Linked DNA regions of Homo sapiens: regions 2 and 3 are each linked to region 1. Evidence: promoter capture Hi-C in 16 types of primary human blood cells and fetal thymus (Javierre and others, 2016). All regions are on one chromosome and are shown on one strand. The core of a region is centred on a gene start or on the middle of the fragment in contact, and the rest is flanking DNA. Distances in the headings are between cores, read along the strand shown. Region 1 holds the start of ALOX5AP (arachidonate 5-lipoxygenase activating protein). Region 2 overlaps KATNAL1 (katanin catalytic subunit A1 like 1). Region 3 holds the start of HMGB1 (high mobility group box 1).

Evidence for each region. The method cuts DNA at HindIII sites, captures the fragments that hold promoters and counts their contacts. A CHiCAGO score of 5 or more calls a contact.
Region 2: a fragment that was not itself captured here is called in contact with the fragment with the promoter of ALOX5AP in region 1 in 1 of 17 cell types (naive B cells); the score reaches 5.5 in naive B cells.
Region 3: a fragment that was not itself captured here is called in contact with the fragment with the promoter of ALOX5AP in region 1 in 3 of 17 cell types (neutrophils, naive B cells and fetal thymus); the score reaches 10.3 in neutrophils.

The regions. Positions count from the first base shown.
Region 1 is chr13:30,733,653-30,737,268 of GRCh38, reverse strand. ALOX5AP (arachidonate 5-lipoxygenase activating protein) reads right to left here and starts at 1,726. Exons shown (of 5, transcript NM_001629.4): 1 at 1,594-1,726. The coding sequence starts at 1,663. All of the region lies in intron 2 of LOC124903146 (a long non-coding RNA gene), which reads left to right. The HindIII fragment of the contact is 8,013 bases long and covers 5-3,616 here.
Region 2 is chr13:30,240,949-30,244,564 of GRCh38, reverse strand. KATNAL1 (katanin catalytic subunit A1 like 1) reads left to right here. Exons shown (of 11, transcript NM_032116.5): 5 at 3,479-3,606. LOC102723381 (a long non-coding RNA gene) reads right to left here. Exons shown (of 4, transcript XR_007063741.1): 3 at 3,243-3,311; 4 at 2,648-2,957. Among named protein-coding and RNA genes, the nearest start is that of KATNAL1, 65 kb to the left of the region's middle. The HindIII fragment of the contact is 1,171 bases long and covers 1,327-2,497 here.
Region 3 is chr13:30,463,334-30,466,949 of GRCh38, reverse strand. It overlaps HMGB1 (high mobility group box 1), which reads left to right and starts at 1,014. Exons shown (of 5, transcript NM_002128.7): 1 at 1,014-1,154; 2 at 3,256-3,419; 3 at 3,598-3,616. The coding sequence starts at 3,270. RefSeq lists enhancers at 55-830, 831-1,606 and silencers at 1,042-1,351, 1,951-2,590. The HindIII fragment of the contact is 4,528 bases long and covers 1-3,616 here.

The DNA of each region.
Region 1 (3,616 bases), core at 477-2,976:
AGCTTCCCACAGTTCAGCTCTGAATTGAGAGGGAGCTGGAGAGAGTGAGCTCAAACTTCGTAGCTGGGTTCAGCCCCAACTGCACAGGCAGGGAGGGGGCACAAGGTCCCCTGTCCACCGATGCTCCTCAGTTTTATTGATGGGTGTCAGGGGAGAGGCCAGAGGGGAGATCCTTCCAGAGCTGAATAAGTGCTAGCCACCTGCCCACCCATACAGCTACCTTTGCAGAGACTGCAGGCATTGCTGCAGGCTGACCTGTCCATCACTGTAGCTGTTTTGTTTCCTGCTCTATCCGCCTGTACCCAGAATACTATCTGGGCCAGAGCAGGGTCTCTGTACATGTATGCGGGTTGAATAATGGAATCCTTGCCAATTTACAGGGCCAAGGGAGCCCTGTGTGAAATCATAATGGCTCAAGAAAATGGTGGCCTAAATAAGCCATTTGTTCCCTCTCTGAGCTACAACTTTGTTGTGTGTAATTTAGTATAAAAATGTTTGGGTCAGAAAGCCACAAAGTGTAGTTCTTGTAGAAAACATACTTGGAGTGTGTGAAGCTGAGCCTTTCTGGTGCAGAGGCTGAGGGGGAGGCTTGCTCTGTGCCCAGAAGGCTACATCACCAGCATCTGTCCACACTCAAGATGGGGGAAAATAGAATATCCCAAAGTGATTAAATACTCAAAGTTCCAAAAACGTGACAGCATGTCAATGTTCAGTAATCACCATAAAGCTACAGCAGCTGCCCTTAGTAATTACTCTTTTTTTCTCTATCTTAATAAATATAAAACACAAAGCCACTGGAGATAGTTATGAAAGTGGTCTGAGGCAGCCCTAACTCAGAACTTTAGGAAGACAGCTCTACACAATTCTCCCTTTTCCAGATCTAGGTATCCTGCTTGTTTTTTGTTGTTGTTGTTGTTTTTAACTAATAGCAGGAATAATGGAAATGCAAACGCTGAACAGGACAATTTTCCTCTCTCTCTCTCTCTTTCTGAAGTATACACTGCATATGAAAAATGCTTCCAAAATTATACGTGCTAGAGAAAAAGAAGGTATCACCAAAAAAAAAAGTTTCTTCAGGAGAAAAAAAGAAAAAAGTAATATAGAGGAAAAATAATAAGATGATTTTTTCTACGCACCTCCCAAAATCACTTTCTTTTTAGACTGCAGATGACTGGTAACTTCAATTGCACTGCAGATGTTAGAAAAGCCCAGTATCTGAGTAAATGTGTATATCATGTTCCCTTTCTAGTCTTCTCACCTTCCACCCCTTGCCTGGCCACATTAATTAATAGTTAAAATGCTGATCATAGACACTTCGGTGAGGGTTTTAGCAAAACCTTCAAGTTGCAGCCCTGGCTCTAAAAATGGGACTGGTAATCACCACAAAAGTGAAAGACTAAGAGGAGGAAAACCCCAAATTTACACAGAAATACACACAACCCTATACATTCAAATAAAAAGAAGAAAATAAAGATAAGGTAAAAGTGTTTGTGCATGCGCACACACAGACACAATTGTTTAAGCCTGACTTCCAAACAACCATCAAAGAAAATCTCCCCTTCTGTTCTTCCCTGAGTGAAGGGCTTTCCTTACCATTCTGGACCACGCTGATGAGGGTGACGATGGCCAACAGGACAACATTGCCTACAGTTTCTTGATCCATGTTTGCTTCAGGCTCCCCAGAGAGGACTGCTCTGCCTCCAGCTGCACAACCTGCCCTGTACAGGAAGGGGAAGTGAGAGCTTGCACTCTTTCATCATTACAATTTCTGAAGATCCCCGGCACAATTACACAGTGCCTTCTTCTTCCTTTTTTTTTTTTTTTTTTTTTTTTTAACTAACCACCAAAATGCCCTGGCTGTGGTTCAGTGTGTCCCACCAGGAGAAGCAGGGCTTGGCAGAGGAGCACGCAAAGCCAGCACACTCTCCTACATTTCCTTGTCATGGGAAACTTCCCTGAGAGTCTCCAGAATGAATCCTGGACCCAAGACCATGACCAGCACGAGCCCAGCACAGGCACCAGAGAATCTGGAAGCTGCCATCATCTCTGACTTCAGCAAAGAGAAAGAAGGGAAAGTAAACCCAAAACTTTCAGGTCAGACAGAGTGGCATAAACCTGTAACCCCAGCATTTTGGGTGGCTGAGGTGGGAAGATTGCTTGGGCCCAGGACTTTGAGGCTACAGTGAGCCAATGATTATGCCACTGCACTCCAGCCTGGGCAACAGAGCAAGACTGTCTCACACACACACACACACGCACACACAAATGTAAAATGAAACTTTAAAAAAATGTATAGAACACCAAAAGATCTGTGCCCCAAATACTGTCCTTCTTTTTTTGAATTCCAAGAAAAAAAGTGAACACTTAACACACGGTAAGTAGCAGCCACATAAGGTTTGAATGAAGGAAGGAATAAATGGCAGTGGGGAGGGACAGCTGATATCTCCATTTCTTCAGAGAAAAGTAATAAAGGGAATTCATAAATTAAACCAAAGAATTCAAACCAAACCAAAGAATTCAGGTAAAAGGCAGAAATGGAGTTACAGATGATCCCTAAGGGAAATTCCCAAAGGGAACTGACTTTTCTGAGGCAATCGCAGAAACACCTTCCTGGAAATTCTTTTCAACTGAATAAGAGTAGAGTGGCTGTGCTTTCTGAGAAAGTATAAGAGTGGACCTGCTGGGTGGGTGAGGTGGCTGCCTGGTATTCTGCAGCTCAGATCAGTGTGAATGGCAATCCCTCTGAGGTTACATGGAAAATGCAAAATACCTGCAATCTTTGTCCCAGACTTAGCTATTTGGCATTGGTTAAGAGGTGCTTTTATCAAAACTTCACTTTGAAAGGGAACATGGACCACTGTAACTAGTGGCAGCAGGGAGGGCTGCATCTCGGCACGGAAGAGGTCAGTGTAGGGGAAGATATTGCTCCCTCATAGGTACAGTGCCAGAGGCCCGCTTCAATGCCCTCGGTTCAGCTGAGAGAGAAAGGCTGATGAAGGCAGCGTGCAGAGTTGTGTGCGGGGAAGCCAGCAGCCAGGGCTGTCGGGCTGGTCATGACACACTTGGGTACTCCCTGAGTACCTAGGGCACTTTGTAGAGTATAGACTTTATATTAGCCAAGGCTCTCCAGAGAAACTGAACCAATATATAAATAAGTCTCCTCATATATATATATTGCAGATTTATAATAGAAATTGGTTCACATGCTCATGGACACCATGAAGTTTCATGGTTTGCCATCTGCAAGCTGGAGACTCAGAAAAGCTGCTGGTGGAGACCAGTCTGCATTCAAAGGCCTGAGCATCAAGGAGGGCAATGGTGCAAGACCCAGTCTGAATCCAAAAGCTGGAGAACAAGGGGCTCCAGTGTCCAAGGGCAGGAGAAGATGGAGGGCAATGGTGCAAGACCCAGTCTGAATCCAAAAGCTGGAGAACAAGGGGCTCCAGTGTCCAAGGGCAGGAGAAGATGGATGGCCCAGCTCAAGAAGAAGAGGGAATTTGCCCTTCTGCCCGCTTTTTGTTCTATTCAGGCCCTCAGTGGATTGATGACACCCACCATATTGGTGAGGGTGGGAATTCTTTACTTAGTCCGCTGATTCCAGTGCTGATCTCTTTCA
Region 2 (3,616 bases), core at 663-3,162, 490 kb after region 1:
AAATAGGAACGCTTTTACACTGTTGGTGGGACTGTAAACTAGTTCAACCATTGTGGAAGACAGTGTGGCGATTCCTCAAGGATCTAGAACCAGAAATACCCTTTGATCCAGCAATCCCATTACAGGGTATATACCCAAAGGATTATAAATCATTCTATAAAGACACATGTACACGTATGTTTATTGCAGCACTATTCACAATAGCAAAGACTTGGAACCAACCCAAATGCCCATCAGTGGTAGACTGGATGAAGAAAATGTGGCACATATACCATGGAATACTATGCAGCCATAAAAAAGGATGAGTTCATGTCCTTTGCAGGGACATGGATGAAGCTGGAAACCATCATTCTCAGCAAACTAACACAGGAACAGAAAACCAAACACTACATATTCTCACTCATAAGTGGGAGTTGAACAATGAGAAGACATGGATACAGGGAGGGGAACATCACACACTGGGGCCTGTTGGGGGGTGGGGGACTAGGGGAAGGATAACATGAGGAGAAATACCTAATGTAGATGATGGGTTGATGGGTGCAGCAAATGACCATGGCACGTGTATACCTATGGAACAAACCTGCACGTTCTGCACATGTATCCTAGAACTTAAAGTATAATTTAAAAAAAAGAAAAATAATGAGATTTCCAAGAAATTTTGCACTTTCCTTGGGCCATTGAAATCAGGCAACAGATGAATAAATTAGGCAAGTGAGAGGCAGTGGCTTTACAGGAAAAAGATCAGCTATAATTAAGCTTAGACATCCGTGTGACTATGACCCAGTGATTTTTATTACTAATTGGCCAGTAATTTCCGATGCGTGGTAGCTTACTACCTAATGAGTTGATTCGTCTGTTGGACAGAATCTATTGTTAGAAAATTCTTTCTTTTGCTGATCTGAAATCTATCTCTTTTGTTACTGGCCCTTGCTTTTTTTTTTTTTTTTTTTTTTTTTGGCTTAATACCTAGTAGGCCTGTTGGTTGTATTGCCCCATTAGAATTTACTTCTTCAGCTTAAATGTCTCTAGTTTCCTTGGTCTTCCTCCATATGACATGGGTTTTGAACCCTTTATCATCTTGATTATTCTTCCCTGGGTGTAATTTATCAGTATTTCTCTTAAAATGCAAGACCCAGAGCTAGTAACTGATCATGTTTTACTTAATCTGCCAGTGTGAGAGGTTGCATAGTAAAATGTAAGAAACATTTGCATTTTAGGGCAAACTATATCATTAATTGGCTCTGTAATATTTGGTTAGTCACTTTGAGCCTAATTTTCCTCAAATAGAAGATTATCCAACACTAATGAAAGATGAGTAACAAAGCTTTCTTGATATGGGAAATTTTGATGTTAGTAAAAAGAAGCTAAAATATTTTGCTTTCATGAGAAAAAAAGTATATCAACCTTCATGCTAAAAATCAAATTCTTGCTAATGTTGACCTTAGTCAACTCATATGAAAATCTAAGGAAAGAATTCTAAGATCATTTCAGTGACATTGCAGTTAGTAGTATTTATGTACACTTAGTAATATCTTGGAGAGGTTAGCTTTATTTCCTTTAACTAATAGTTTCCTTTAGGTATTGCATTTAATCTAGCTGTTTATATTTGATGTCTGTATTCTAATTTAAGTATTTTTTATGAAGAATAACTGTCACCCATTTTACTGATTTCCTGGCATAACCAAATTAATTTTAGTTTTCCTATGTCTGTTTTTTATAACCTCACCATTTTGATTTGAAAACGTTTCCAGAATCTTTTTTGTAGTCCTCGATCGGTATTCAAGTCTCATGTGTACCACTGAGAAACTTTGGGTTCTCGGGCAGGTCATTTAACTGGCCTATACACACACTTCTTCTTCAGTGTAGTGAGAGGCTTTTAGTTCTTTGATTCTCCTCCTCTACCCCGTCCTCTATAGGAGCCAGAAGAAATCCAAACTCACCTCTGCCCATATCTTCAACCTCTTTCTTCTGCGCAATACATTTTATTATACTGGCTACTCAGGTTTTTTCACAGCACTTCACAGTTTATGTGTGTTTTTGCTTTATTTACTTGTTACTCGTTTCCCCCACTAGACTAGATGCTTGATGAGGGCAGATAATGTATTTTCATTCACTGCTCTAAAACCTAATGCACAATAGCATGTATTGCACGTAGAAGATGCCCAAATATTTACTGTTTTTAAAATCCTATGATACTCCTATTACTTTCAGATAGGCATGCAGCTTTTTCTTTCTCCTGAGGTAGTGTTTATTAAGTTCTTTCCAGCCACTTGGACATTCATATTAAAATGAAATTTTAATTTTAACTTGATAAGTGTAAATTACAGTGCCATATGAAGGCTCAAGCTCCAGATATGTCAGTTTCTGTTGTATTCTTTCGTTGATACGTTTCTAGAATAGTTTTTAAATGATTACAGAATGTTCCTAGTGATTTGTTTGAATATGACTTGGTAGCCTTGGCCTATCTGTACTATAAAATTTGACTCTAGCCTAAGCTTAAGTTTGTTGATGTTATGTTTCTTGTGTAGGTGCCAAAAATTTACTCCTTTTAATATTGTCAGTATTGATATCTGTCATCTGGAATGCAAGAATCTTCGGGAAAATTTACTAATAAATTTAATGCTACCGCCATACTGCCCAGAAATAATTTATTTTTTTGGGTGAAGTACCAGAATACTGTTTGGTCACTTACCTAGTGGCTTGAAGGAACCAGAGCATCTGTCCAAGGGAGCCATTTAGTTTCCTCCAGCACTTATGATTGAGCCTTTTGACTATCTCAGAAGTGGGATTGGAGAAGTTTGTCTTGTTCTCTTGTCTCTTTTCCGGTTGAAGTTTAGGAGATTGACTCATTTTGACCATTTTCTTGTTTTGTTTTTACTCTAGGCAGTAACTGGGGCTAAAGCTCTGGGGAGGCACTTGGCTGTGCTTGCTGAAGTATTTCCATAGTTGGACTGTCTCTGGCAAATAAGTGAATTTCATTTAAAGCTCGTCAAAGCTGTGTGAATCTTGGCAGAACCCCATAGAAACCATAGCATAAAATTTCTTTTAAAACAACTATATTATTAAATGAAGAATTTGGGGTAAAGCATATTGCTTTAATGGTCTTAATACTATTTAAAAAGATCCTTCCACATTAATATTCAAAATGTTTTCTAGTAGTGGTGGAAATCCTCTGCGTCTACCAGTTCAAAGGTAGGCTTTCCCAGTCTTTTGGGATCTAGCAAGGATCAGTTTAGTCTTACCTGCATGCAACTGTTCCTGCAAGAATGTAGATTTGAAGTTTTTAATAAAGTTGACCAGTTCATGTATTTCTGATGAATTAAATAGAGGAGAATGGCATTTGAGTAATCAGAAAATACTACCTTAAAATAATAAAAATTATTTAGAAAGTGATGGCATTATAATGTTTTCAAAGCGTAATGATGTTAACTAAATTATCCATTACTGACTAGTACTTTTTTTTTATACCTATCCCCAGGGAAGGAAGAATATGCAAGATGGTGCAAGTGATGGTGAAATGCCAAAATTTGATGGTGCTGGTTATGATAAGGATCTGGTGGAAGCCCTTGAAAGAGACATTGTATCCAGGAATCCTAGCATTCATTGGTTAGAGTCT
Region 3 (3,616 bases), core at 565-3,064, 270 kb after region 1:
AGTTACATGGATGCACTAAGTGGTGTGATGGGAGGGAAAGATAGCATCACAAGGATTCGTTTGATTGTAACAGTAATCCACACCAAGTCAAATAAAATAGCCAAACAGTTTAGAATGTGGTCTCTAATGAATTTGCTAATTCTACCAGGGCCTCACAAACATTTCCTGCTAGAGTACCCCATATCAAACCAAGTGGCTGTTCTTTAATTACATGGAATAATTATTTGATTTCCAGGAAGTTAAGACAGTGCTTTGTATTTAAATAAAAAGTTCTAGACATGCTGTGAAACTCGATCAAACCAAGAAAAAGGGTGAAACTGAATGCCTGCTCACTGACTCAAGATTTCAGCTGCTCAGCGAGCCTGACGTGACGGCTTATGAGCCCAGAAAAGGGGTATTTTAAACCCGGCTGGCTGGATCATGTCACTTTCTTATAGAAGCCCTGCCTTTCCAGAGACCTAAAGTGTAACGCAATCAGAGACCTTTGAGGGGCTCGAGGCTCGGCGGCTTCCGCCCCTCAGCACCAGCAGAGACCCCAGTTTTCAGGGGACATGATCCCATAGTGTCGCCCTCACTTTTGAAGGGCCATTAAAAGCCTGGGGCCTCTTATCTCAACGGCTTTGGGCGTGAATGTGGGGCAAGAAGGGGGGGGGAGACCTGTGGGTGTCTCTTTTGCCTGAGGAGTTGGAGACACTTGTGGAAAAGTCAGGCCCTTTTCGCTCCGGCGGCCGCTCCGGTGTGGGGCTGGCTTGGGTTAGACACATGCACACATACACCATAGAGCTCTGCTTTCCCGTAGCAGCTGCTGCCTCTGCCTCTGCCTCTCCCGCCTCAGCCTCTTTGCCCGGCATACACACACATTCAGATTTGCGCGCTGTTTCAATCCTTGATGACGTGTCCCCGGAGACAGCCAATAGCAAACGGGCTCTGGTCAGGACAATGGGAGGTATCGGGCCAATGAGCGAGCCCCGTGAGTTGGCGGTAGCCAATAGGAGCCGCGCTGGCTGGAGAGTAATGTTACAGAGCGGAGAGAGTGAGGAGGCTGCGTCTGGCTCCCGCTCTCACAGCCATTGCAGTACATTGAGCTCCATAGAGACAGCACCGGGGCAAGTGAGAGCCGGACGGGCACTGGGCGACTCTGTGCCTCGCTGAGGGTGAGTCTGGGGCAGCGCCGCGGCGGGGAGAGCGCCTCCGGCAGCTCCCCAGCCCGCGCGGCGGCCGGATCCCCGCGGCCGGGAGCCGGCGGGTCAGGATCCACACAAAGGCAAATGAGGGGGGACCGTGGGGGGAACTGCGCACGGAGCGAGCCTCTGCCCGGGCGCCGGGAACGCTGCCCCGCGCCGGTGCCCCGGCCCTCAGGCAGCCTGAGGCGCCGGGAGCCCCGCGCCCCGCGAGTTTCCACCCCCGGCGGCGTCCGCGCTGACTGGCGCAAAAAAAAAAATTTTTTTTTTAATTAAAAAAATTTTGAACGTGTTTTGGGCCCTCGGGCCGGGCGTTCGGGCGGGCGGCGTGCGCGGAGCGCGGCCGGGGCGGCGGGGCCGGCGCGGCTCGGCGGCGGCGGCGGGAGGGCAGCGGCGGCGCTTCCCCGGGCTGCATTGGCCGCCGCCGCAGCGAGCCGGGCGCTGGCGGGGAGCGCGGCCAGCCGGGCGGGCGGCGGGGCGGGCGGGGCGCCGCGGCGGGCGAGGGCGGCGCGGGGGCCTGGGGGCGGCAGTGCGGGCCCGGCCGGCCTCGGCCCGGTCGCGGCGGCGGCGGCGGCCGGGCGGCGGGGGGAGCGGCGCCGCTGCGCTCGCTGGAACATGGCTGACTCGGGCCCGGCGCTGCTGGCTGGAGAGAAAACAAGGCGGGCGGGCGGGGGAGCTGGGCGCAGCAGTTCCGAGGCAACTTTTTTTTTCCTCTCTCTTTTCACAGCCCCGCGTTCTCCGTGCGGGGGCGGCGGGGCGCGCGGCCCGCGCGGAGGGAGACGGGGAGTGGCGGGCGGGTGGGCCCTCGGGCGGCCCCCACCGCGGCGGGGGGAGGGGAGCGGCGCGGAGGGGAGGGCCCGGCCGCGCGCCCCCCGCCCCTCCCCCGGCCGTAATGGCCGAGTGTGTGCGCCAGAGCGCGGCTCGCACCCCGCCCGCCGCCGCCGCCGCGCCCGCACCCTCGCACTCACACACTCTCTCATACACACACACACACACACACACACACAAAGGGAAGGAGCCATATTCTCGCTCGCGCTCGCCCTCGCGGCGGCGGCGGCGCAGGCGGAGAAGACGCGCAGCGGCCATTCCGTGCGCGCCGGCCCCGGCGGCCGCGGGCGGAGCCAGCCCCCATTTCGAGCGGGGCTTCTCCCTGCGCCGAGCCTGACAAAATGGGGGCGGCGGCGGCGCGGGCCTGCAGGGCCTGCCGGGCGCACGTGGCGGCCTCGGGCCTGGGAGCCGGGCCGCGTCCTCTCTCCTCGGCCGCGCGGCCACCGGCGAAGTTCTAGGGGCGGGGGGCTCGCCCCGCGCAGGAGTCACCCCAACTTTCACGGCTCCAAAAAATACTTCCCGAGTTGGGGGAGGGGGCCACCGAGCCACGAGCAGGAGTGGCTTTTGTCCCTCATCCTTGTTTACTCGGAGAAACTTCAGACCGGACGTGTTTAGTCAGAACAGAAATACATCTCAGGGCCAAACCGATAGGAAACGAGGCTGCCTCGCGGTGGCACCGCCACCCCCCAACCGGGTTCCGAGCACCGGAGCTGGCTGCTGCTCCCTCTTTGGAGCAAAGTTTTATGCAAAGAGGGTGTTTTTTGAAACTTTCGGTGCACGGTGATTTTTTTTTTTTAAGGTCCCATAATTAGGAAGAGTCGACTCGCTTAGGCCCTTGTTTATTCCCTATCTAGTGCAAAGCCACGAATTGGCAGCATGTTTTCTGACCTTTGGTTTGGTTGGTTTAAAATGGTGTTCTAGATTTTAAAATCGTTTAAGTGACCAGTTAGATACTCATTCAGAGCAGACTCGGGCGGATAGATAGGGAATACTGTATGGGTATATCTTTGTGTCTAGACTTTTTGAGATCGCCCTGAAGGACTGTTTTTGTTTTGTTTTGTTTGCTTGGCATAGCCCCTTCAAGGAATTTAATCTCTCGGCCATATTCTTGTCTGATTTTACGGAGGTTGATGTCGCTACTGTGTTAAATAACCAGTACTTTGGTTTTCATTCCCTTACTAAGTACTTTAAGGTCTTATATGTCATAATTTTATTGCTAACATCAAATATTTATTTTATTTTTTAGAAAAATAACTAAACATGGGCAAAGGAGATCCTAAGAAGCCGAGAGGCAAAATGTCATCATATGCATTTTTTGTGCAAACTTGTCGGGAGGAGCATAAGAAGAAGCACCCAGATGCTTCAGTCAACTTCTCAGAGTTTTCTAAGAAGTGCTCAGAGAGGTGGAAGGTAAGAGGGCTTAAAACATGCTAACAAGGTAATTAAAAGACAGTTTCCAATTGAGGATGCAAAAAAAAGCCTAGTTGGCATTCTCGTAGTGGGACGCTATTACATAGCAAAAGACATTGGTTTTGAGGATAATTTACTTAAATGTTACAACTTAAACTTACAAATAATTATTTTGTAGACCATGTCTGCTAAAGAGA